4 separate regions of the Homo sapiens genome follow, and regions 1, 3 and 4 are each linked to region 2. Evidence: promoter capture Hi-C in 16 types of primary human blood cells and fetal thymus (Javierre and others, 2016). All regions are on one chromosome and are shown on one strand. Each heading gives the region's core, a stretch centred on a gene start or on the middle of the fragment in contact. The rest is flanking DNA. Distances are from core to core; before and after follow the strand shown.

Region 1 (6,861 bases), core at 2,635-5,134, 1.3 Mb before region 2:
TGTAAATTCAGGTGCACCTGGGCCAGAATTTTAGATTTTTTCCCATACATATGATTATTTCTTTTATTTTATATTCACTGTTGCATAGACTTTTCCCCCATAAATACAAATTATTTGTTTTATTTTGTGGAATTGTGGTTTTGCCAGGGTCTTGCTATGTGACTGTCAGCCAACTGTTTGCCTCCCCAGGTCTCGGTACCTATAACTGGAGATAATGTTCCTTGTGTTTTGGGCTTGTTATAAGGTTTGATTCAGACAAGGTATACATAGAACAGGTTCCTGTGGGTTTTAGCTGTTGTTGATAATGGAGATCCTGCCGGTGGGATCCAGAGGAAGGGTCTGGCTTCCTAGCCTCCTGGAAGGACCTTGCTGCCAACTCTTCCCTTCTCACCTGCTCAGTGACTTGTCTGAACTTACATAACTAGTTACTGGCAGAGCTGAGTCCAGACCCCAATTATCTCGAGTCAGGACAGGTGACTTTTTGCCATCCCAGGGTGCCCACCCCTGTAGCTTGAGGCCATCTCCCCTGGTGGAGTCCCAGTTTCCTCAGCTGAGAAAGGGGGTGAGCCCTTCCTGTCCCACTGGCCTTCCAGGGAGGCGGTGGACCCACCTGCCATGTGAACTGTGCAAACCAGAGTCAAGAGTGTGTGCCGCTAACATGGTGACATCAGCACCGATTGTAGTTGAAAGTTTTATTGGATTAAAAAAAAGACAGACAATACTGGTCACATAAATGGGTGTTTTTTTTTTCTCTTAAGGTTTGAGGCCTTATTTATTGTTTTATGTACGTAGTTCCATACTTCCAGCAGTAATTCAGGAAACAGGAGAGAGAGATAAGGTAAGAAAAAGAGAGAAAGGCAGCTGGGCTCCCAAGGGGTGAACTTAACCAACATTCAGCCTGAGTTAATATTATTATTCTTAGTTTGTCTATTTGACAGTAAATAGTTAGTATTGACTAAAGTTTTTTTAATCAGGCATTTGACAGCTTTTTTGAGTGGTTGTTGCTCATTTGCATGCTTGGCTAATGAATTAACCACCAGGTCTAGAATCTGTTAGGAGTGGGCTCTGCTGATAATCTATAGAAATAAGGCTGACTGGCTGTCACCCTGTGCCTTTGGGGTCATCTTTTCACTGAGGAAACAAAGAGATGGAGTTTTTCCTAATTTCATGTAAAATTTATTTATTTATTTTTGAGACAGAGTCTCGCTGTCGCCCAGGCTGGAGTGCAAGGGCGCGATCTCAGCTCACCAAAACCTCTGCCTCCTAGGTTCAAGAGATTCTCCTGCTGGGCACGGGGGCTCACGCCTGTAATCTCAGGACTTTGGGAGGCCGAGGCGGGGGGATCATGAGGTCAGGTGATCGAGACCATCCTGGCTAACACGGTGAAACTCCGTCTCGACTAAAAATACAAAAAATTAGCTGGGCATGGTGGCGGGTGCCTGTAGTCCCAGCTACTCAGGAGGCTGAGGCAGGAGAATGGTGTGAACCCAGGAGGTGGAGCTTGCAGTGAGCCGAGATCATGCCACTGTACTCCAGCCTGGGCGACAGAAGGAGATTCCATCTCAAAAAAAAAAAAAAAAAAAAGATTCTCCTGTCTCAGCCTCCTGAGTAGTTGGGATTACAGGCGCCTGCCTGGCTAATTTTTGTAGTTTTAGTGAGATGGGGTTTTGCCATGTTGGCCAGGCTGGTCTCAAACTCCTGTATTCAGGTGATCCACCCGCCTCGGCCTCCCAAACTGTTGGGATTACAGGCACGAGCCACCGCACCCAGCCTGATGTTAAATTTAACTCATACTTACTAGATCTTACTGTGTGCCAGACACTATTCTAAAGACTCTGCAGATACTAACTGGTGTAATCCTCCCTATGACCTTATGATATGCTAATATCAGCCCCACTTTATAGAAGAGGAAACTGAAGCCCAGAGATGTTAAGTTATTTACCCAAGGTCACACAGCGGTGAGTAGGGTCCCAGGGTGTCAACTCCGGCAGTTATGTTCTTCACTGTGGTCATAACTGTGCCTACATTCCATCCACCTCTCTGCCCCACGAGGGTGGTAAATCAGGTATTCCTTTCATTTTGCAGATGAGGCAACTGAGTCATAGAGAGGTACCTTGCACAGTTGTCCGGTGAGTCACCAGCTCAGTTGCGCCTAGAGACCAGGCTCCTGGGAGGGAGAGCATTAGGAAAAATAGCTAATGCATGCTGGGCTTAATACCTAGGCGATGGGTTGGTAGGTGCAGCAAACCACCATGGCACACGTTTACCCATGTAACAAACCTGCACACCCTGCACATGTACCCCAGAACTTAAAATTAAAATTAAAATAAAAAAAGAGGACAGGCTCCTGACTTCCCAGGGAGGCCCTGGGTCTTCACTGTGTCATGTCCCAGGAGCCCAGGCCTCGTGGGATCCTGTGTTCTTGAACTGTGGCTGGTGCAGGCCCTTTCTGCTCCTGGCTGGGCAATGAGTGATTTCCACTCTGAGGTCGAATCTTGGTGATGGGACTTGGGTTCCAGAGTGGGGTGAAAGAACCAAGACAGTAGGCACCCACCTGTCCTGCACACATCTGTGGTTTCATGTTGACTGCATTTTGGGAGGAGCTGGCCCCCACCTCGTCATGAGTTACAGGCAAGTGGCCCTGTTGAGTCCAGAGTGGGGAGAGGCAGGCACAGTGGACTCTGGCTCGAGACCTAGGATGGCATCCTACTGTGGCTGGCATGCTGTGTGACCTTGAGCAGACAGATCTTCCCCGTCTCTGGGGCTGAGCCTGCTGGGCTGAAATGTGAGATGGAGCCACCAGTGGTTTCTAACAGCTGCAAGAGCCAGGCAGAAGGTCGTGCATTTCCCACCTCAATTCCTTTCCCACCCAGTAGTTCCCCCAACTTTCCTCATTTTTCACATTAATGAGGCTTAGGAGTCAGTTTTCTCTGAAGAAACTGGTGGTGAAAATGAAAACTGTTAGATTGAAAGCTTAGGTCTTTCTGCCCCAGGCTGTGAAGATCCTTATGGGAGAATTTGGTCCACTCACCGTGAGGTAAACAGTTGAAGCTCAGAGCCCCTTGTGTGACCAGGCCCTGTCCCTAATGTCCCTGTGTGGTTTGGCATTCTTTTCTTTGTGATGAGTGTACCCTGAATTGTATAAACCTCGGGCCCTGCAAGATCTGGACCCACCCTGGCCCAGAGCCTGCTGGGGGCGGCCAGTGACCTCTGGGCACACAGGGAGTGGGAGCCTCCTCAGGGGAGGGTGTGATCAGGACTTGCAAGCCTCGAGTTGGACCCAGGGAAGAAGAGGCCTTGCTGGAGAAGGCAAGGCACCCGAGGCTTCATTTTATTTTGTTTTTGAGTTTTCTTGACGCCTTCTTGCTGGTCCGCTGGTTTTGGTCTGGAGGGCCCTGGGGTGTCTCAGAAAGGAGGAGTCTGTGCTGAGGGTTGGGAGAGGAGAGCAGGGAGGGAGGGAGGAGGGAGCCCTTGATCAGCCACAGGTCTGGGAAAGCATCTGCCCCTCGCTGCTCAGACAGCTGGGAAACTGGGACCACAGCCTCCTCTGGGCGGAAAAATAGTAACAAAATAGCCTTTTTGTTGGAGGTGAAAAGTCAGACTCCCCCACTCCTGGTGTGGAGAAAAGGCAGCAGCCAAGGGCAGGGTGAGCCCCCCAGCCCAGGACCGCCTGCTCTGTCTCTAAGCCAAGGCAATGTTTGATCAGGGCTGTTTTCCCCCCATCCCCTGCCCTGGGGGCTGAGTGCCTGGGCAGCTTCCATGGCCTTCAGGTTGCGGGTGTGGACACAACCTCAAAGGTGCAGGCAAACAGGTGCGTGGGTCAGCGTCTGCTGAAGATGAATCCAGAGGCACAGAGCCCTAGGAGCTGGTAGCCCCAGTGCCTAGGCTGTGCCTCTAGTGATATGGCACAGATGAAGCCATCCGTCCAATCCACAAGAGTGTCCAGAAAACACGCGTCTACCTCCTGATGACTGCAGGTGCCAAAGGCATCCTGGAAAGGAGTGGAGAAGGTGGCTTTATTTCAAAGCCTTTTTCAGGGTAGAGCACACCTCCTGGAGAGTGTAGCCAGCCAACCAGGGATTCCAGGCTCCTCCCTTGGGGTTTGAGGGCAGAGACTGGCTGTCCTGGGCTCAGAGAGACAACAACTGTCTGAATTCTTCTCTGTTCGGGAGAAAATGGGACAAACCTTCAGTGACTCCCTGCCACCTTCAGCAGCTGGCTAAAAACTGTTGGAGTTGGTAAACCCAGCAAAACTAAGTTTTCCTGGGGCTGGAGCGGGTTCTTTTCTCCTCCCACCTCAAGTTCAAAGCCAGCCAATTAAGAAAGCTAAACAGTGTGGTCTTCTCTCTGCATCATTGGCTTGTAAAACTTTCCCTGCAAACTAGGCGACTTTATTTGTTGGGAAAACGAAGTATATAATTTTCCTGACCTGGCCTTTGCTTTGGGGAGAAGGGGAAAGAGAGAAAGAAGTCATTTCCAGAAACAGACGGGCCCCGAGGAGCAAAACAAGGTCCACACTCCAGCGTCAGGGCAGCGTAGACTGCAGCGCTGTGGTCTGGAACGCTGAAAACAGCGTGTTGCGGGGAGGCGGGACGCGAGGCTCCAGGCTGCGGAGCCCTCTGGGGCCTGGGTCACTGTCTGCGAGGTGGACATCGAAGTCCTCCCAATTCTGCTTTCGAACCTCTGGGCGCCACCTGCCTCCCCGCTACTGCAATTTTCCGGTTTCCCCGACGTTTGCAACTTGCAAGTCTCCTCTCACTTCCTTCCATCTCCAGCAGCCCCTCCTCAAGCTTGGCCTCCTCCCCTCCCCGCGACGGTGCCTATCCCGAGCAAATCATACCCATCCTCTCCGCCGCCCGCAAGACAGCCTCCCCCGCCCTGCCCGAGGGGTCTTCAGGCCCCTCCCTCCAAGGGCTCAATGGTTGGGGTCCATAGCCCCCTTCATTGCCACACAGGAGAACACAATGGCCTTCCCCGAGGCCAGGGGCGCAGAGCTCCGCGGGGGCGGCTGCATCTCCCGGACCCCGCACCCGGCACGGCGCGGACACTTTGGCAACTTCAAAACTGCGCGGGGGCCTCCCCTGCGAGCGGTGCCCCTTTCCCGGCTGGCCCTGGCCGGGTCGGGAGGCTCCTCGGCACTGTTCCCAGGCCTGCGGGCGCGCCTGGCCCCCGCCTGGCCGCCGGCCTCTGATTCGCCCACGGCCTTGCGCCCATCGTCCACCTCCTTCCCTCTCTCTTTGACCCGCGCCCGCTGCGCACGTTGATTGTGCCTTGGTGGGGCGGGAGGGCCGAGAGGGCTCAAGGTCCATGCATAATTCGGGGGCTTAATGGAGCAGCTGCCTGAGCCGGGCGGCGAGGGGCGGGCGGAGGCGCAGCTGACCCAGCCCGCGTCTGGCCTCGCTGGGAAGGCGCGCTCCTTTCTTCCTCCCCTGACACTCCCCTCCCCCACTCGGCCTGGGTCCGAGGAAGGCGGGGGGTGGGCGAGTCGAAGGGCTAGCTTTGGGAAGGGGTTTCCCTCGTGCATCCGTGCAACTTTTGCTTTGGGGGGCGGGGGGCATGCAGTGAATCGGAGCCGCCTCGGGACCGGCTCCTGAAGGTGGTGGAATGCAGGCTTCCTCGGAGCACTCTGCAGCCCTGGAGTCTTTTTTCCCGGCTCCTTTCCCCCCCGCCCCCGTCGGTCCCCAGCCCAGCAGCAGCCCAGCGAGCACGCCTCTGGCCCCGGGCCAGCCCCCTTCCCTGGCAGCCGGCGGAGATGGATGGAGGCGGAGACCCAAGGTCAAGGGCGGGGAGCCTGCCGGCCCCGGGCCCCTTTGTGCGCACGGGGCCGCCCCTCCTCCACCAGTCGCCTCCTCTCTGGCCCTTGGGCGCTCTCCCGGGTGGGTGACCTTCTCGGGCATGGGGAATGTGGAAGTGGTCCCCTCCCCGAAACCGTGCGCGCCGGTCGGGTCGCTTCGCCGGGGTGGCATTCGTCCCGGGTGCTGGGGGCGCACGGGGATCCCTCTTCCGCCCGCCGCCATTGCCCTGATGAGTGGCGCCGTCTTCCTCAGCCCACCTTGGCGGGACAGAGCGGGCGGTTCCCGGGATCCAGGTGAGGCCGGGACGGAAGGAGCCTCCGGGAGTTCCCTTGTACAAAAATGTGATCATCCAGGGGCAACAGCCCCATCTCAAAGTGGGGATTTCGTGGGGACCTTAGTTTCTTTCCGAGTGGGAGAAGAGTAAGCCCGCTTTTCTCAAGGACAAAAGTGTTTTCCCAATTGTGTGGGAATGGAACCCTCCACTGGAGTGGGACACCGAAGCTCCTGGAATTACAGGGATTTAATGTCAGTCCTCCTTTCAGCCTGACTTCTCTTAGGATAACCTCTTCCAACAAGAATTTGTATGCAAATCGTCACCTTGCTAGGAGTCTCTAGTTTTGTGTGTTAAAAATTGGCCTCCAATTGTTTAAAGCACTTCAACAGGCCCTTAAAGGCCCAGAAAAGCAGTGGTTGGACGCCCAGCCTGTCCACCACAAAGCTCTTAAGAAAATGTTCAAACATTTTCCCAAAGCTGTTACTCTGGAAATAAAACTGTATACTGTTCGCCTGTAGCCGATTAAAAGTTTACCTTCACTGTGACAGCTTTTCCAGGCTAGGATTGGACCCACATCTCTATTTTCCATTTTTCAGAAATAAATCTAAACCAGGCAGAATTGATTTGCTATAACAAGAGTCAAGGTAGTATTAAAAATATGCGTATACCTATATACTTATAATATGAAATAGTATGTTACACTTGCTGGGCTCTCAAGGCGAGTATTGTGTAAACGGCACCGTCATGGCGTTTTGAGTAAGAGTTGATTTTAAAATCTCAGATTTAGCTAAC
Region 2 (6,832 bases), core at 4,037-6,536:
CAGCAAAGTTTCCGGCTGCTATAGCACCAGTGGGGGAAATGAAAATAGCTTGCTCTGGAAATGACAGCGAGTTTCTTGGCAAATCCCTTTGGTACAGTTTTAAAGTCTGCACTAAGAAGACCTAGACACCCTAGAATTTTGTTGCTCGGCATTCATTTTGCCCCAACTTCAAGACCAGCCTGGAGAAAAAAAAATGGGATAGTGATGTGTCACCAAGATGGCTGAGCCCTCCCACCCCCTGCCAGAAAACAAGCTCTCTGTTAGATATTGATAGCTAGACCATCGCTATGAGGCCTGCAACGTTCCTGTGAGAACTATGTCATTTTCATAGGTGAAAAGTTCAGAGAAATTAGTGACTTGCCCAAGATTTTATGCATGTTTTTGGAAGAGCTGACATTAAAACCCCCATATCTGCTTAATTTCAAATTACACGATCTTCTCTGCACACCATAAAATGGGCACAGATTTTCTCCTGTGGCCTCCCAGCCCCTTGAACTTCTGCAGAACACCCACCCTTCCTTATACCATTGCTCTTACTTGACACGTCCTACCTTGGTGGTAGGAAAGCAGATAAACAGTAGATTCACTTATCTATACTCTATCTGTCTATACCTCTTTACAACCCCACCATTCCATCTTCATCACTGGAGTGATACTAACACAGGGGGTGTCCGTTCTGCTACAACATTCAACATTTGGCCATATCTTCATTGGGCATTTCCCATCCTTGGCTTTCATTTCCACAGATGAGGAATGAACCAGGATTGCAAGGAATAGAGTTATACAAAATATTACATTTGCCCATAAGGGTTTTATTACCTGTTAGGTTGAACTGTATGGAATTGCCAACTCTTGATTATTTCTGACAGTTCCATAAGATTCAAGCTAATAGTAAAGCAAGAAGAGAGTAATCATTTAGTGGGTGCACACTGTAAATTATAGGCCCTGTGTTGGCTGATTTCCACGCATCCAGTAGTTTACTGTTCACGGCAGCACCACAAGCAACCCCACTAAAGACCTGAGATTCAGGAGATCATGTCGTTGCCCAGGGCCACATTTTTGGGAAGCATCAGAGATATTATTAAACTCCTAGCTCCTTCACTCTGAAACCTGTATCCACATCACAATTTCAGCAGTGCTAGGACCCTGTCTTTAGAATTTTGGGGGTTCTGAGTGGAATTCATTGGTGCTGATATCGCAGGCCCTAGGAAGTTGGTGTTTGCTGGTATCGTTGTAGATACTGACAATCCAGGGTGATAGTCAAGCTATTTTAAAGCTATTAAGTTTAGGGCACTACCAAGCAAAACTGACACTTGACCAGTCAGAATGGCTGCTGGCTGTCAACCATTAGAGATGCCTTAAAGGGAATTAGCATTCTGCTGATAAAGAAGGTATGGTGGTTGCTGCTATTCTAGTTTTCTGTATGCTGTTGTTTGCAGGGTACTCAATAGTTTGGATTATTTGTCAGCTAAAACTCATTCCCCTCTTCCCCAATACTACCGTGCAGAATTTCCTTCCCTACTTCCTGAGGTTGGGCTTGGCCATGTGGCTTCACCTAACCACTGGAGTGCCTGTGGACATGATGCAATCAGAGACCTTAGATGTGCTTGCTCTTCTCTGCATTTAGGCTATAACATGTCTGAGGTAGCTGTCACCCCTTAAGCTGGGATCCCAGAACAAATACACATTGAGTGGATGAGAACCCAATCTATAGCTTAAAACCATGCTCAGGAGACATGCAGTCTGCAGCAGAGCTGATCAGCTGAGACAAGTCTAGCTCAACAGAACCACAGTAAACCTAGAAACCAATGAGCGTGAGAAGAAATACTTAGTCTTTCAAGCATCTGAGCTGGGATGATTTGTTATACAGCATTATTGTTGCAATTGCTGACTCAGGCAGGATTGTGAAGCTCAGGGTATGGCCTTTGAAACTGCATAATTCCAATCTTTGGCTCCCTCAAGTTTAGTCTCCCCAAGTGTAATGCAGCCACATTTATGTTTTCTTGCAAGACTTTCGCTTTAACCAAGAGTTTCAAACCTGATTGTCATGACCATGCTAAATGCATAATGGTATCAACAACTAGTGCAAAATGCCCTAAACGTAAAGTGATATGAATATTTATACACAGTTCTCTGGAAGTGCGCATGTTTGTTTCCTCTGGACCCCATGGAAGATATTATTACAGACGGTCACACTCCTTATGAGCTTCATTGACTCATGTCAGCATTGGTGATAAACAGATGCAAACGGCAGTATAGAGAACATTTGGGATGCAAAGCTCTAAGCCAGTGTTTCAGGCAACACTCTCTGGGTGGTTTTAACAAATAATAACATCAAATAATAAATAATGGTATCAACTACCACTATGGCTGTTGCATTTTTTGAGTGCCTCCCTTGGCCGGGAACTGTGTATATATTACTCTAACCTATTACTCACAATCACACTCTAGGGAAAGCATTTTTAACCCCTGTTTTTCAAAAGTGGAAAATAAGACTCAGAGTGGTTAATAGATTTATACAAGGCCACACAGCTAGTGGGTGGCGGAGTGAGCAGAATTTCCATCTGACTCCATCTCCTTCCAAAAGTACAAAATGCACAAAAGTACGAAAATGCTTTTATTATGGATTGAAAATTTCTATCCCTCCAAATATATATCCTGAGGCTCTAAACCCCAGTATGGCCATATTTGGAAATGGGGGCTCGAAGGAAGTAAGACTTACTGAGGTCATAAAAGTAGAGTCCTGATATGATAGAATGAGTGTCTTTATAAGAGACACCAGAATGCTATTTCCCCAGGCACACACACCAAGGGAGGGCCATGTGGCTGTCTACAAGACAAGAGGTGAGCCCTCAGCAGAAACCAGGCCAGCCAGAAATGATCTTGGACTTGTCAGCCTCCAGAACACTGAGAAAATACATTTCTGGGATTTAAGTCACCCAGTCTGTGGTATTTTGTTATAGCAGCTCAAGCAGACTAATACATGTCAGTCCTGAGTTAATAATATTTCCCAGGAAGTCTCAGAGTACTATTAGGGAATGGCCCTTAAATACATGAAGTGCATGTATTAATTCCCAGCCTACCTCCTTCACCCTACATAAAGTGCAGAAAGGGTCAGGGTGTCACAGGGCCCGTTTCCTTCAATGCGTCTGTGGGAAGGACGTGTAGGTGCAGCCCACGATAGCTCAGAGAATGAGACCGGCTTCAGCTTGACCCTTTTTGCTCCAGGAAAGCATGATGTGGATCATATCTTACTTTACTCTCATAGAAATTTGCTGCTTCCTCATGTATAAATAACTAATCATGAGCAGCAGTGTGCTCCCTGTCAGAGCCTGATCAGGACCATAGAGGCAAGTGGGACTCAGCCTGGGTCTTCATGGCTGTGGGAGCCATTACTGCTCTCTGTATTCCAAGTGGAACAGTCCTGGTGTAAGGGTCTTGTTTCAGTGTCTGTGAGCATGAATGGGTGTGCGTGTGTGCACACGTGCATAAGAAGCTTGTATCCTTTCTTCTTCTAGTGAAAGGAAATCCCCTGTACCTGGGGATTGGGGGAGATAGTGAGGTGTTGGGGAGCAAGAGAGACTACAGGAAAAGATGAGGTGCTGAGGCCCACCAACCTGTTTGTCCTCACCCTTTCCATCTGCTGAAAGGTGCCTATTGGGCGTAGAATTGTCTCCAGCCCACTTCATTGGACCAGGTCATCCCAGTTAGCCTGACTGTCCTGTTTGCAGGTCAAGTATAGAGGGAATTTTGCCACAGTAAAACATGCTCTATTTTCAAGTCATATGTGAAGAAAAAATAAATGAAGGAAGGATGAGGAAAAGACCAAATGCTGCCAAGTGTCCACTACAAGCTCTGGTTTTCTGCGGGGGCCACTGAAAGGTGTACAAATTGTTCACCATAAGCCAAGGACACAAACATGTGTGTGCGTGTGTGTGTATGTATGTGTGTTTGATGCCTTAGCACAGCTCGTGTTTGATGCTTGTGATGGTTCTATTTATAAACTTTGTGCTCTCAGATGGGACAACCAGAGGCACTTCTTTCCTGCATTTCAAGTGTTTCATTTCCTTTTTAACATGTCTTTTAAATTAAGGGCATGCACACCAATGCATGGGCTCACTCTCATCTTACGGCAAGTTGATCAGACTAGGGTTAGTTGTCTGAGAAACATGGGTGGCCTTTGTCACAAACAAGAGGAGAAGCAGTTCAGGGAAGAAGAAGACTAAGGACTAGCACTGTTGTTTTGGTGGAGTTGTTTGTTAGCTGACTGTCTACAAGGCACATGTTCTATCGAATATTCAGTGTTGGGTGCTGACTGTGTTACGAGCCTTGTACATAGGATTTAAACCCCAGAGCCACTCTGTGAGGCCAGAATTGCTTTGGGATCTTTCAGATGAGGGAACCAACGTGAAGGCTTTAAATCCTATGTCCAAAGCCACACAGCGAAACCAGAGTGAAATCCGGAGCATTTGAATCAAGAGTTGAATCTTCTTTCCTCCCCGGAGGGAGAATCGCCCAGGGGCTGAGTGCAAGGGGAAAGGCTGGTTCTGAGGGGAAGAAGCTGAGCATGTTGCGGCACAGGACTTAGAAAAATTTAGAAGCATCTGCAATTGTTTTCCAGGGGAAGATACCCAAAAACAATCCAGAGAAGGAAATAAAACGAGAAGAATAGTAAGGCAACATGGAGTATAAAAGTTGCTGCATTTAGGGCGAAGGAGAGAACCTCTCTGCTCCGTGGCGATATTAAAGCTATCCCCAAGAACGGGAGGTGGGAGTGGCCTGAGGGATGACTCCTCCAGCACTGCTGCCTGCCAGCTCCGGGCTGCACAGGGCTGAGCCGGCGCCAAGAATGCCCTCTTCTGGTGATATTCTCGAAGCCCAGGAAGATAGCAAGGCAGCCGAGACCTGTGTTTTCCAGATCCTGGGTAGATTCCCTTGTCAGATGTGGTTCTACTTAAGCAAATATCACTACCTTCTCTTTTTCCTCCTCAGCCCTCAAACTAGTGATAGGGAAATTATTTCAATAAGGTAAGCTGTACCTTAGTAGAGTTTGCTTCCTTTTTTTTTTTTTTAACCCCGAATAATACTCTCTATGTCATCTGTATATTTATGATAGCTCAAAGACATGGGTGTGTGGATCTAATTAAAAATGTGAAAGGGTTTAGCAGCCTGCTGCTTCCCTGCAACTCTCTGGTTGCCAAATCTTGGCAGCCGTGTTGAACTTGAGCCAAGCGTTTAGTCCTCAGCTGAACTGCTGCCAGCCTGCGCACGGCATTGTGGGGCGAGAGCCGGAGGGGCTGCACTGCACCGAGCTTGCACAGGGCGAGGCGGGGGCAGGACCTGGGACCCAGCCACCCCGGAGGAAACCGGAGAGGAAACCAGCTTGGTCTTGCTCTCTGCCTCGTCCCAATCCCCGGCTCTTACCAAATGCAGGTAGGACCAGCTAGGCCAATTTGGTGACCGGGTAGGGCTTCAAGCTACTAGGTGGGAAATGGTCCCTACAGTTTTGCTTTCATTTAGTCGAAATCGGGCCTTTTCAGAGGAGAAACAGTTCTCCACTCTCTTGCAGTAGTTTGGGCCTGAGTTTCAACAGTCGGATGGGGCATTTCTATTGAGTTCTCTGCTGTCAGTCTGAGCTTTTTTTGATAGCTTGGCAATTGTTCTGTGTCTTCTCTCTGAAGCAGCTGAGTCCAGCACAGGGTTTCTCAAACCCTGTTGTGCACACATGTCACTTGGGAAATCTTGTGAAAATGCAGGTTTCTGAGTCTCCCCGGGGAAAGGGGAGAATTCATGTTGCCAAGATCAGAACTGACTAGAACTGCTTACGTTCCACATTATGACTCCAGACTGGAACTTTTGTGAATTCAAGGATGTTAGGCTCTGGAAAAGTACATCTTGGTGATTTGCTGTCAGAGGGAAAAACAATTCAAAGAACTCAGCATTCTCCACAATATGTTGACAAAAATAAGGGGAAAAAAAAAACATCAAAGGCATGGGTCACTTTTTATTTTTTTTTGAAATGTACCAGCTATAAGCAAATTAAAGAGGAAGAAAGGGTCGTATTCTTTGTATACAGAACACCCTCCTGCAGAGTGAAAATTCAACCCTAAAAAGATCTTCTAATATACTTGAGGGGCTGAGAGAGAGGATGAGGGGGGACTTTGCCTTTTAACTTTATATCTTGTGTATTGTTGATTTTTCATGATGATGCATTTCTTTCGTAATTAAAAGAAGAGGCAGCAGCTGCAAGACGGCCCAGGAGCCTTCTTGGCAGTGACCTTCCCCAGGGCAGGCCACCAGGGTGGGGCAAGTATGGACTTTGAAACCACTTTGTCCTGGAGTGGAAGCAGGCTCTGGCATTAAGCTTGGGGAATTTGGCTAACATTGCTGGGCCTTTGCAATTTCATCTGTGCAATGGAGAAATTGGGCCTTCATTGAGGCACAGCTGTGGGTGCCGCAGACATGTTTGTGCGGGGCTCATACCCAGGGGTCCTTAACAGGCGTTTTAAAAATTCAGAGTCTCTCTCCGATGGGGTTAGGACACTATTCCAGATAGAATTTCACCCCGGCAGACTGCTTCTGAGCACAGATATGTTCCAAAACCTCCGGATAGGAGCTAATCACTTTAGAAGTCACAAAGCCTCTGTTCATGATGTTAGAGGAGCTCCCCAAAAACGAGGCCTTGGGGAATAGCAGTGAATTTTCTCTTTCTTTTCAAATGGCAAATTTATACATATGAAAAGTCTAAATGACATGGCAAATAAATCACAAGTAGTCATAATTTAGCCGGCCACTTTTATTATGAAACAATCAAAAGCATGCAGTCGGGACG
Region 3 (6,583 bases), core at 3,502-6,001, 1.3 Mb before region 2:
AGGACACGGTTCCTGCCCCCAAGGAGCTCCCAGACAAGCAGGAGAGAAGGTGGCTCCCAGACAAGCAGGAGAGAAGGCAGCTCCCAGACAAGCAGGAGAGAAGGCCGTGGAAATGATCCTTCTGATACCACAGCCTGCCGATGTCATCTAGAACTCTGGGGGATTGGGGGAAAACGAACAGAACCAGATTAAAAAAAAAACCCTGTCCTTAGCTAGGTGTGGTGGTGGGCACCTGTTATCCCAGCTACTTGGGCGGCTGAGGCAGGAGAATCGCTTGAACCCAGGAGGTGGAGACTGCAGTGAGCCAAGACTGTGCCACTGCACTCCAGCCTGGGTGACAGAGCGAGACTCTGTCTCAAAACAAAAAATGAAAAACAAAAATGAAAAAGAAAAACAAAAACCAAACCCTGCCTTGTAATTTTGACTTTTACTTTATCCAAGTCAGGACTCCTGGTCTGAAGAATATTTGACCTCATAACTATTGGGGGACACTGGGGCTCCCTGCCCAGGGACAGGATGTTCTCTGCAGATATCAGGACGTGGGTGCCGATGACAAGGGCGCTTTGCCGCCATGGCCCGGGGCTGGAAGCGCAGCTCTCAAAGGTTGGTTGTGAAGCTTCCAGGGGAGATGGTCCTCTGCAGGAAGAATAAGAGCCATCCTGTAGCCTTCGCTGTTCCAGAAGGCTCCGTGGTGAATACATAATTAGGTCCTCTGTAATTACCAGTTTGAATCTGCCTAGGACACTAAGGCTCCCACCCCCTAATTTACCTTATAAATTTATTCTGCTAAAAAAGTCGAAAATGTCAGTCTTCTGTGAACGCTGCATAAATGAATTATCTCCCCATGACAGAAGGTGGGGAGCGGGGAGGCTTCCAGAGGACATTCCTCACTGTGAGTGTCGGAAAGTGCTCCATGCTTCGCAAGCACCCAGCAGAGAGCCTAACCAAGCTGCTTCCTGCGCCCACCCCACGGAAGGCCAGGTTCCAGCAGGTTCTGTGTAGCTGGTTAGCCGGTTAGCCAGCCCCAGCAGGGCGAGCAGAGGTGGCTTTAAAATCAGCCTGTTTGGCAGCTGTGAGAGAGCTTTGCCTTAGCGTGCAGTCCCAGGTAATGGAGGGCTGCAGACAGAAGGAAAGGAAGGAAAAAGCATGGCAGCTTCTTAAAGAAGGTCTCATCCAACCACGTCCCACAGACCTCCCTGCACCCAGGATGGTCTCACACCATAGCATGGCAACCATCTCCTTGATTCTTTCACAAAGAATAGTTTTACAAAACTATTTATTACAATGTACGAGGCTGGGCGCGGTGGCTCACGCCTGTAATCTCAGCACTTTGGGAGGCAGAGGCAGGCGGATCACTTGAGGCCAGGAGTTCGAGAGCAGCTTTGCCTATATGGGGAAACCCTGTCTCTACTAAAAATACAAAAATACAAAAATTAGCCAGTCATGGTGGCGGGCACCTGTAGCTCCAGCTACTTGGGACGCTGAGGCAGAATTGCTTGAACCTGGGAGGCAGAGGTTGCAGTGAGCCGAGATATTGTGCCACTGTACTCCAGCCTGGGTGATAAAGCCAGACGCCATTTCAAAAAAGAAAAAAAAATGTACAGCAAGTCTTTAGTGACATTCTAGGGGGTTTGGGAAACAAAGTTCCTTTTTTTCTTTTTGAGACAGAGCCTCACTCTGTCACCTGGGCTGGAGTACAGTGGCGTGATCTTGGCTCACTGCAACCTCCGCCTCTCGGGTTCAAGCGATTCTCCTGCCTCAGCCTCCAGAGTAGCTGGGATTAGCCCGCCACTACAGCAAGCTAATTTTTTTTATTTTTAGTAGAGATGGGGTTTCACTATGTTGGCCAGGCTGATCTTGAACTCATGACCTTGTGATTCGCCTGTCTCGGGCTCCCAAAGTGCTGAGATTACAGGTATGAGCCACCGCGCCCGGTGGGAGACAAAGTTCTTTTAAAATCCCCCCTAATCTCATAATTCTCACACAATAGCTGCTGTTATTTCTGAATCTCCTTCCGGTCTTTTTCTCATATGTAGTCTATTATTTTCCTCCTGAATAATTAGTCAAAAGGTTCAGCCGCTACAACCTTTAATTTTTAATTTTTGGCGGCTGATAATAAAAACCATAAATGCAGATTATAGAAAATGTGGAGACCGAGAGAAGAAAATGAACAATGATTCCCCACCCTCAAACTCCCATATGCTCATCTCTGAACCCTGAGAGCTTTCTTTGCAGTTTTTGTCCCATGGCCATGGTTTTTCTTTTTCTTTCTTTCTTTTTTTTTTTTTTTCCGAGATGGAGTTTTGCTCTTGTCCCCCAGGCTGGAGTTCAGTGGCCAGATCTCGGCTCGCTGCAAACTCCGCTTCCTGGGTTCAAGCGATTCTCCGCCTCAGCCTCCTGAGTAGCTGGGATTACAGGTGCCTGCTGCCACGCCCAGCTAATTTTTGTATTTTTAGTAGAGACAGCGTTTCACCATGTTGGCCAGGCTGGTCGCGAACTTCTGGCCTCTGACCTCAGGTGACCCACCCGTTTTGGCCTCCCAAAGTGCTGGGATTACAGGTGAGAGCCACCGCGCCCGGCTGGCCTTGGATTTTCTAGTTTGCCTGTGTATTAGGTCTTGTAGTGAGGTCCAGCTGGCTCAGTCACTGATACCCTCCTATGTGCCCGTCACAGGCACAGGAGACAAGGTAGGATCTGGACTGTCTGCTTTGAGAAGCTCAGAGCCCAGTGACCTGCTACTAGCAGATAACAACTATAATGTTTTCCTCTGGGTATTGGCAAAGGTTAGCCTGGTCCTTGGCACAAAGTAGGTGTGCTATGATTTGAATGTGTCCCCTCCAAAATTCACGCTGAAACTCAGTCCCCATTGTGGTGGTATTCAGAGGTAGGGCCTCTGGGGAGATGACTGAGTCATGGAGGCTCTGCCCCATGAGTGGATTAGGAGAGAAAGGGCTGGAGGGAACTAGCTTAGGCCTGTTTGCTCCTCTGCCATGTGAAGCTGTCGTGTTTGTCCACCCTGGAGGATGTGGCAACAAGGCACCATCTTGGCAGCAAAGGCTGGGGCCCTCACCAGACACTGAACCTTCTGACGCCTTCATCTTGGACTTGCCAACCTCCAGAAATGTGAGAAATCAACGTCTATTCTTTTTTTTTTTTTTTTTTTTTTTTTGAGATGGAGTCTCACTCTGTCACCCAGGCTGGAGTAAAATGGCGTGATCTCGGCTCACTGTAACCTCCGCCTCCCAAGCTCAAGCGATTCTCCTGTTTCAGCATCCTGAGTAGCTGGGATTACAGGCACCTACCATCATGCCTGGCTAATTTTTGTATTTTTGTAGAGATGGGGTTTCACCATGTTGGCCAGGCTGGTCTTGAACTCCTGACCTCAGGTGATCTGCCCGCCTTGGCCTCCCAAAGTGCTGGGATTACAGGCATGAGCCACTGCGCCCGGCAATATCTATTCTGTATACATTACGCGGTCTCAGGTATTTTGTTACAGCAGCGCTGAGACAAGATGCTTCATCAATATTAGTCGATTATGTACCAGTGAAATCTGGGGGAAATTTCCCATTTCATTCCTGAAATATTGACGTGTGTACCTTAGACTGAGTTGAATGTGAATCTCTTGTTTCATGAGTAAAACGCCTCCATAATAATATCTATCATTTATTCAATGCCTCCTCTGTGCCAGGCCTGTGCTGGGGGCTTTCTGAGAGGTCATCTGATGAGATGCTCACAGAGGCGTTGATAGAGGAGGACCTGGGATGTCGAGAAGAGAAACCGCATGAAGGCTTTTGCAGCTAGCAGCGGGCGCAGCGGAGACTTGACCCTGGCGATCTCGGAGGCGTATATCAAGCTGTGTGTGCCCTGTCCTGCTTTTCTCACAGGCTGCTGGGAGGACAAACTCAAGTCAGGGAAGCAAAAGGGCTTTGTACACTAAAACTCTGTCCCAACATGAGTTGTTTGTCTGTTTCAAATTTTACCAGCAGAAACGTCTGTCTTACCCCACTCTCTCCACCCCATTTCTCTCTGCCTCAATTATCTGGTTTCATAACCGTGGTGTGTCTTGTTGGATTTTGCTGTCTCAAACAAACAAACAAACAAACAAAATCTCTTCTACTAACTGAGTATACTGTGTCCTTAATGCAAACTTTGTTTCTCTGTAATTCTCTTCCTTCCTCCATGTCTCGATCCAGCACTGACTTTGTCTTTGCTGTTCTGGTTCCACATCTGGTGATGTTTTCAGCTGCCTGTTATTGGCTTGCAGGATGGCTGGAAATCCAACCTGGGTATAGGACGGCATAGTGGTTATACACAGAGACAGACCTGGGGTGATTTGGGCTCTACCTCGTGGTGGCTGACTTCGGGTTTCCTGTCTAAGGGGGATGAAAGTCTTTCTCTTCTGAGGATTAGATAAGATAAATGCCTCACAATGTAATTAGACAGAGTGTCTCTTTGAATGAGTAGGTCTTGAGGGTCTTGGAAGAATTCTGCAATCTGTGCTCAGGACCCCTGAGCCCTGCTGCTTTGCTCCCATGGCACTTGGGACACATGGCCATGAGTCCATGTGATGGGCTGTACTCTCACTACTATAATTGCTGAACTATGTCATCAACTTTTGTTTTCCCTTGCTCTGTTCTTTGGAGCTGGGGTGGTGTGTCAGATTCAGGCTTGCCTGAACTTGGAACCTCAGTACCACCACCTCACAATATTGCCATCTTTGGGCCCTGTCCCCCATGGTGTGCTTGGCATACAGCAGGCGTCCCATCCGCGTGTGTTGTTGAAGGAACAAATCACAGCCATGCTTATGATGCGACTGCTGCATGGCGAGAGACCGGGCCAGGCGCTTTGCTAAGACCCACTCATCACCGCTTATACAGAGCGGTGAAGCCCATCTGACAGGGAGACCACAGAGCCTGAGAAATGAATGCCCTTTCCCCAGCCGACTCAGCCAAAGCCTGAGCTTCCAGATGGGCACCCTGGCAGCATGTAGCAGGCCAGGGTTTGCAGGGCAGGGGAGCCATTCTACTTCAAGGCAGCAGGCAGCCCTCATGGCTGGTGGGGAGGCTACTGACAGTCACTAGCTGTGACTACTAGCAGGCAGGTTTTAGGGAATGACGCCTCGATTTTTCACTTTGAGGAAACCCTTGATGTGCACCGTGGCAGTGGCAGAGGCTAATCGCGTGGATCTGGGAGCTAATGCAGCTGCTGTAATTCCTGTCACCTTCTCACAGCTCAGTGGGAGCTTCCGATGAATAAATCGTGGCATTCAGGGGCTGCATACATCAGTGGCAGGTGTCACCGTCATAGGTCGGGCAGGGCACTGGTGCTCCACCTTGCCTTGTCTTTAATTAAAGGAGGAAATATGTCAGAACTGACAGGACCACTGACCAGCCTACCAGGTCCTTTCCAGTCGCAGTGAAATCAACCGTTAAAGATGCTCATCTCAAGAGGAGAACGAGTCTCTTATGCTTCTGGGGAGAAATCACCATCTGGCGAGGGTTTCCTGGCCTTTGGGGGTCCCCCTGCTACCTCCTCTGAGCCATCTGGGGCTCCCCTGCATTTGCCCCTTACTTGGGAACTGTAACCCTTAGGGATCAGAGGGAGCATGGGAACAAAACAATTCAATAAAGTCACAATAAAGCATCCAAAGCCCTTCATACTTTTTCACTTTCTTTAACTCAATTTATTTTTCATTTTGTGGACAGAGATTTAGTCTGGGTATTAGTTTATGATTTTTACTGAAGGAATTACTCAACACACACACATATAAAAAGGAAATATTATTTTTATCATTTATTTTGTGCCATGTATACCATAGGAGAAAAAAACGGAGCGAAATCACTTCAGTACCGCTGTGTTTTTCATTACAAAGTTATTACATATAGAAATTACTCCAAATTATCTGAAATGAATGGAAATTATGAGGTTTAAATTCCCCAGGTTACTGCAGGCACAGCTCTGGAAATTTATTTTGTCATCTTGCTGAACATAATTGCTACAACAAAATTTCTTCCATTTTACAACTGCAGCATAACTTATTTATACCGGTGTAGCTGTAATTTTACATCAATAAGTTGCATGGGAAGGAATACACAGGTGGTAATTGAAAACAATAATTTGTACTGAGGTCCAGGTGGAACGGTTGGCTCAGAAAAAGGCTCCAGTTATTATCGGCAACAGCTTTGTGTCACTGCGGCCTCTTCTCATCCCCTTAGCCAACACTGGTCAAACCATCCAAACACCTTCAATCACATCCCTGTGGCTGCTGCAGTGAGAGCTGCAAGTTGTCTGACTTTCCACCATGGCCCATGTATTCCGGTCTGGAAAGTGAGGCCACAGGGTGCTGAAGGTACCCAGGGAGGCCCATGACACCTCTGTGCCAGCTCCTGCCCTTTCCTTCTGCTGCTTTCCAACTTGCCTCTTGGTTGGGTGCATTTAGGTACCCGGAGCTAATTAAGGTGTTTGATAGATTTCAATTGGAGTATGAGTTCTTGCCAGAAACATCAACAATTCGATTCCCCAAGCACAATGCAGAGCGTTAAATCCACTAATGCTTTATACATTACTGTGTTCCTTCCCAGCC
Region 4 (6,248 bases), core at 813-3,312, 1.2 Mb before region 2:
CCTGGGAGAGTTTCTTAGTGTGAATGAAGGCAGAGGAAGGGCCAACATCATCAGTGTTCCTGGGGCTTGCCACTGTTTGCTAAAGGGCCGGCTCAGTCCTAGGCATGACATCTCATCGTTGTAACGCTCCCAAGAAGAGGCACTCCCCCACCCTTTTGCTTATGAGGATATTGGGGCTCAGAGAGGCCACACAACCCACCAGGGGTCACACAGCACACAAATAGCAGAACTTGGACAGAGAGTCTCAAAACAGAGATTCAGACTCAGGTCTGGCCAGCCTCCCAGCTGTACTTGGAGCTCTCCCGTCTGGCTTCCCACTGGGCTGTAGTGGACAACAGAGAAGGAGCTGCTGGTAGAAAACCAAATCAAACTCTGATATGGTACCTGGGAGGGTCCTGAAGGTCTTCCTTCATGCACTGGTCATCCTTGTGCCAGACCCTGGGCTGGACTGAGGGATCCGGAAATGGGCATGACGGGGTCCTTGCCCTAGAGGAACTCACCGTGGTGGGGGTGCCCATGGAGGGCCTTCTCACTCAGTGGATGTGAAATGCATGTCCCCATGGCGCCTTTCTCTGTTTGAAAAAAATGAATCAATTGGCTGCTGCTCGGGTGCTCCCTCACTTATTGCCATGGTGCAGCTCAAGAGCAGATCTCAGGATGGAGAGGTGTCCCACCTGAGGACAGCTTGTCCTTGTGGTCGCATTGCTGAGAGGTGGGGGGTACCTTCTGTGAGGATTTTTACCTGAATGAAGCACAAGTGGTGCCTGACTGCATTGGAATCCACGTGATTATTGGCGTGTTTTTGACTCTCATTTTATCCAGTGGTGCATTGGGCCCATGGCTGGTCCATAACCGCATGTTATGTGGAAGAAGCGAGAGAGTAATGGGTTTTCCATGAAAGGTGGTGCTGTTTCTGGAAATGGGGCATACATATGCTCATCCTCATGGAGCAGCGCCGTATTAAACAGAATTGTGTGAATTGAAGGTCACCTGGACCACTCTTGGAAAATGCTCCCGACCCCCATGGGGTTCCTTCCAGAGAATTTGTGTTCTCTGTACCTGAGATCAAATGTGTGTCTAAGCAATTCTGGCCCCTGGCTCCCACCACCCTACCCTCTCCACAAAATAATAGACATTAGGGGAGGTAAGGGAACAGAAGAGGTCTCTTTGCAGATATTATATTTTTAAAAAATGGTTCTATGTAATAAGCAGCAGCTAAGGAGACAGAAAGACAGTAGATGAAGAGAGTGCCAATATCTTCCATGGGGAAAAATGAATGAACTGAAAGAGAATATTATTTTTCTAGAATACAGAAAGCTGTCCTCTCACAGATCAGCTGGAATTCCAAGGTGGATTATGGACTTCTTCTAACTCCCATTGATAGTGCTTCTTACCAGGTGAAGGGAAGGGCTACTTTTTCCTAAAGGAGAAAAAAGCTTTCAGACAAAGCTCGTACCAACCCCTGAACTGCAAATTTGCTCAAGTGACCGTGCATACTTATATTCCTAATTTAAATGATTATTTATGTCAAACGCTCATTGTGAAACTTGAAAATGTTGTATTACATTACATCAAATAAAGTTTACTTGTAGCAGACAGAAAGAGAGAAAGAGAAAGAAAGAAAGGAAAGAAAGGAAGGAAAGAAGGAAAGAAAGAAAGAAAGAAAGAAAGGGAAATAAAGAAATTAAAGGGCTGGGCTTACAGGAGCCTGGAGGGTTGGGAGATCTACAGGGGTTTTACCACCGGGGAACTTGAGGCTGAGGGTCCAGTCACTGTGGGCAGTGACAGGTGTGGATGTGGTGTCTTCTGGGAAGGGGCCTGCTGACAACAAGCTTCCTCCAGCCCTGGCTGGACATAGAGGGAAACAAAGTCACCGATCCTCAGTCCACCAGAAGGCAGTTTTGACCTTGAAGAAGAGGGCTAGAGCATGAGCGAGATTTTCTCATCGGATCACCTCAAATTGGGTTTTGGGGTTCTGACTGGGAGTCAGGGACTTGGCATGTGGTCCCACGCCAGCCTTAACCAAGTCGATTTCCTCGACCAGGCTCATCTCTGTCTCTCCAGTGGCTGGGGCGGGGATGAGTCCCAGCAGGTGCCCAGGAGATGCTGGGGGATGATGAAGACTCAGAAAAGGCAGTGTCTACACCTGTGAGAGAAAGAGGAAACACAGAAAACGCTGCTAGCCACATTCTTGTATGAGCATCCTCCTTGTTTTTGTACACAGGACAGTGGAATCCATTTTTTTTCCCCCACTGGGGAGCGAAAGAAATAATAGCCCTTAAAAAAGCTTGAGGTGTTCTTTGTTGTTTTTATGGTGCGGGGAGAGGGGAACAAAATGTACTTGACTTTTCGAACCTGAGGGCAGGGTCGGGGTGGAGGGGCTGTGTTCTGTGTATATTTTACAATTAAACCCAAATAGTCTAAACCATGAGATACAGTTTATTCAAACATAATCAAGGCTGGCCACTTTTACCCAAAAAGCAGTGGGACGGAACCCTCGGTGGGCAGGGGTCCCTCTGTGGGGCCCAGCATTATGCCAGGGAAACCAGATCAAACTCAGATATGGTTCCCGGGAGGATCCCCCAGGTCTTCCTTCATACGCTGGTCATACATGTGCCAGACCCTGGGCTAGACCCTAGGGTCCAGAAATGGGCGTGACAGGGTCCTTGCCCTAGAGGAACTCACTGCGATGGGGTGCCCAGGTGGGGCCTTCTCTCCCAGCTCTGAATTTGGGCTTTCCAGGCAGCTTCTCTTGTAGTTCACAGGTGAGAGGTGACAGGACCGCTCCTGGTTTTCGCAGATGCGAAATTGCTTTCCTTGCGCGTCTGGTGGACGGCACAGGTGGGATTTGAATCCAAGCCTCCTCGAGCCTGGGGCCCACGTGGGCATCCTGCTCCTGTCCTTGCGTCTGGTCCTGGCCTGCCCCTCCCGCCTGGCCTTGTACCTGGCAGGTGTGAGTAGGAACAGCCAAGGGAGAGGAGTGAGCTTGTGAATCACAGAGCTGCCACTGGGCCAGCCTGAGCCCCGGGTAATTAGAACGCCAGTATTGTATGATTCTCAAGGAAGGGATCGTGGCGCTCAGGACTTCTCCAGGGAGGTGAATGCAAAAATGGAGTCAGTACCTGCAGAAACGGGGGCCGCTGGAATCTTTTCATAAAACTGGACATTTTAAATGATTGCCTTTGTTAAGAAGTGAGGAATAGCTAGTGGGGCAAGGCCCACTGGGTGCGTGAGTCTGCTCTTGGTGTTGTATTTAACCAGTTCTGACTCAAGTTCTTTTGCATGAATTTCCTTGGGTTTTATTAGCCAACTCAGTTATTAACATTTTAATCTTAAAAAATACCTTTGATCAGGCCAGTCGCGGTGGCTCACGCCTGTAATCCCAGCACTTTGGGAGGCTGAGGCAGGCAGGCGGATCACAAGGTCAAGAGATCAAGACCATCCTGGCCAACATGTTGAAACCCCATCTCTATTAAAAATATAAAAAAATGTAGCTGGGCGTGGTGGCGGGCGCCTATAGTCCCAGCTACTTGGGAGGCTGAGGCAGGAGAATCGCTTGAACCCGGGAGGTGGAGGTTGCAGTGAGCCGAGATCACAGCATTGCACTCCAGCCTGGGCAACAGAGCGAGATGCTGTCTAAAAATAAAAAAAATAAATAAAATAAAAAATACCATTGATCAAGGGTCCACTGTGTGCTGTGGGCTTTCTGTGTATCTCCAGTGATTCTCACAATGCTTCGATTGTGAGTTTTTTTAATTGTGGTAAGATAAACATTAGATTTACCATTTTAACAATTTTTAAGTGCACAGTTCGGTGGCAATAAGTACATTGCAATTGTTATGCAGCCATCACCACCGTCCATCTCCAGAGCTTTTCCATCATCCCAAACAGAGCTCTGGCACCATTAAACACTAACTTCCCATTTCCCCTCTCCCCAGCCCCCCATTCTCCGTTCTGTCTCTCTGAATGTGACTACTCTAGGTTCCTTAGGTAAGTGGAATCATACAGTGCTTGTCCTTTTGTACCTAGCTCATTTCACTTAGTATAGTGTCTTCGAGGTCCATCCATGTTGTAGCACGTGTTACAATCTCCTTCCTTCTTGAGGCTGAATAATATTCTATCATATGGATAGACCACATTTTGCTTATCCACCCATCCATTGATGGACAGTTGGGCTGCTTTTGGCTATTGTGAATGGCACAGCTAAGAACGTGGGTGGACAATAATCTGTTTGAATCCTTGCTTTCAGTTCTTTTGGAGTTTCTGCGGAAGTGGAGTTTCTGCGTCAAAGGGTAATCCTATATTTAATTTTTTGAGGAATTGCCAAACCGTTTTCTATAGTGGCTACGCTGTTTTACATTCTCACCAACAGTGCACAGAGGTTCTCATTTCTCCGCATCCTTATCTGACTGTTGGGTAATTTTAGTGTTTTTTGGACTGTTGGAGTTGATAGCCAAGGAACCTGCCTCTCAGGGATGTGGCAACAACTGGTCCAAGTTAGGTGGGTAATAAACCTGAGGGCGGTTTGAATCCAGCCTCAGCCAGCCTAGGTGTGGCCCTATAGTCACCACTGGACTGCTGGGGGCTACCACCTTCAGTATATTTTAGTTGAGGGTCTTGAATCCCCTTTGTCTTGGAAATGGTTGCCCATGGCAGTTCTCAGTTCTGTCTCCCAGGACAGCTTTTTTTTTTTTAATTTTTATTTTTTATCTTTATTTTTTATAACAAAGCTAAACATTTAGCTACCTTGATAGCTTGGGGAAGAAAATTCTACAAATGGACAATTTTCATTGTTCTTTCTGTTGTGTCTTCAGGGTGTTGATTTGAGTGTGACTTAGCAGAAGGAGCCCCGTATTTGGAATCAGAATCCCTAGGAGCGAGATAGAGCTCACTCGGTGTCCTGTGCACGCTTTGGCCCTCTCTGAGCCTTGTGGGGTCTCCCTGCCTGATGGGAATCATCACACTGGTTTTGCTTCCTTGGCTGGGCGGGGAGGGACTGGGGACAGGGAATCTCAAGGGAGTGGCCTTGGGTCCTTTGTATATCGGGATGGTAATTGCGATGATTCTTATTAGTGGTTGTGCTTTCTCTCTATTGTCCTGTATTGGTGTCCCAGGGCTGCCGTAGCAAATGGGCACAGACTGGGTAGCCTAAGACAATAAGAAATTGATTCTGTGGTCGGGTGCGGTGGCTCACGCCTGTAATCCCAGCACTTTGGGAGGCTGAGGTGGGTGGATCTCTTGAGCCCAGCAGTTCAAGACCAGCCTGGGCAACATGGCGAAACCCATTCTCTAAAAAAATTAGCCAAGAATGGTGGCATACACCTGTAATCCCAGCTACTGGGGAGGTGGAGGCAGGAGGAGCCCTTGAGCCCAGGGAGGTTGAGGCTGCCATGAGCCGAGATCGTGCCACTGCACTCCAGCCTTGGGCAACACAGTGAGACCCTGTCTCAAAAAAAAAAAAAGAAGAAATAAAAAAAAGAAAAGAAATGTATTTTCTCACAGTTTGGGAGGCCACAGGTCCAAGATGGAGGGGTCGGCAGGGCCGTGCTCCCTGATTCCCTGCCTCTGTGGGCACACAGCTTTCTCCTCTGGGTTTGACTTCTCTTCTGAACAATTAAAATAAAAAAGACAATTGTCTTTGGATTCAGGACCCACCTAGACCATCCAGAATGATCTCATCAACAGCCTTCACTTAGTCACACCTGCAGTGACCTTGCCCCTAAATAAGCTCACATTTACAGGTCCTGGGATCTAGCTGTGGACAGCTTATTTCAGGTGGCTCCATCCAATCTTCTCTGCATGCCTCTTGCTGGATTCTAGGCCCTTCCAGGGCAGGAAACCCAGCTGGTCTCGGTGAACTGAGGTCTGGGACAGGTTCAGGCACTTACAGGGGATTCCCCAAATGTCTCCTGCATTGAAGCTGGAGCTGGCTTTTGACAAGATGGACACATGTTCCTTTTTTTCTCAGGAATGTGGTGATTCTGAAATGCCTGGCCCTTCGGCTAGCACTCAGACTTCTGTGTTTATGGAAGGCAGTGTGGTCACATGTGGCCCCCAGCTCTGCCCCCATGCTGAGTCAGAACACAACTATTAACGATAGGGCGGGGAGATGGCTTAAAAAAATCTGTGGCCGGGCGCAGTGGCTCATGCCTGTAATCCCAGCACTTTGGGAGGCCGAGGCGGGCGGATCACGAGGTCAGGGGATCGAGACCATCCTGGCTAACATGGTGAAACCCTGTCTCTAGTAA

Evidence for each region. Contacts are between HindIII fragments. The CHiCAGO score rates a contact against its expected background, and 5 or more counts as called.
Region 1: a contact is called between a fragment that was not itself captured here and the fragment with the promoter of LINC01550 in region 2, in 1 of 17 cell types (activated CD4 T cells). The highest score is 7.8, in activated CD4 T cells.
Region 3: a fragment that was not itself captured here is called in contact with the fragment with the promoter of LINC01550 in region 2 in 5 of 17 cell types (non-activated CD4 T cells, activated CD4 T cells, total CD4 T cells and 2 more); the score reaches 8.3 in non-activated CD4 T cells.
Region 4: a contact is called between a fragment that was not itself captured here and the fragment with the promoter of LINC01550 in region 2, in 2 of 17 cell types (naive CD4 T cells and activated CD4 T cells). The highest score is 8.2, in naive CD4 T cells.

Annotation. Positions count from the first base shown.
Region 1 is chr14:99,244,757-99,251,617 of GRCh38, reverse strand. The region is part of intron 2 of BCL11B (BCL11 transcription factor B); the gene reads left to right. Among named protein-coding and RNA genes, the nearest start is that of BCL11B, 24 kb to the left of the region's middle. RefSeq lists an enhancer at 3,911-4,807. The HindIII fragment of the contact is 1,817 bases long and covers 2,976-4,792 here.
Region 2 is chr14:97,976,578-97,983,409 of GRCh38, reverse strand. It overlaps LINC01550 (long intergenic non-protein coding RNA 1550), which reads left to right and starts at 5,286. Exons shown (of 3, transcript NR_015430.2): 1 at 5,286-5,433. RefSeq lists an enhancer at 4,787-5,286. The HindIII fragment of the contact is 2,868 bases long and covers 3,499-6,366 here.
Region 3 is chr14:99,278,843-99,285,425 of GRCh38, reverse strand. LOC105370660 (a long non-coding RNA gene) reads left to right here. Exons shown (of 3, transcript XR_001750881.2): 2 at 1-603; 3 at 3,689-5,415. Among named protein-coding and RNA genes, the nearest start is that of BCL11B, 9.9 kb to the right of the region's middle. RefSeq lists an enhancer at 784-1,506. The HindIII fragment of the contact is 8,266 bases long and covers 619-6,583 here.
Region 4 is chr14:99,218,260-99,224,507 of GRCh38, reverse strand. The region is part of intron 3 of BCL11B (BCL11 transcription factor B); the gene reads left to right. Among named protein-coding and RNA genes, the nearest start is that of BCL11B, 51 kb to the left of the region's middle. The HindIII fragment of the contact is 455 bases long and covers 1,835-2,289 here.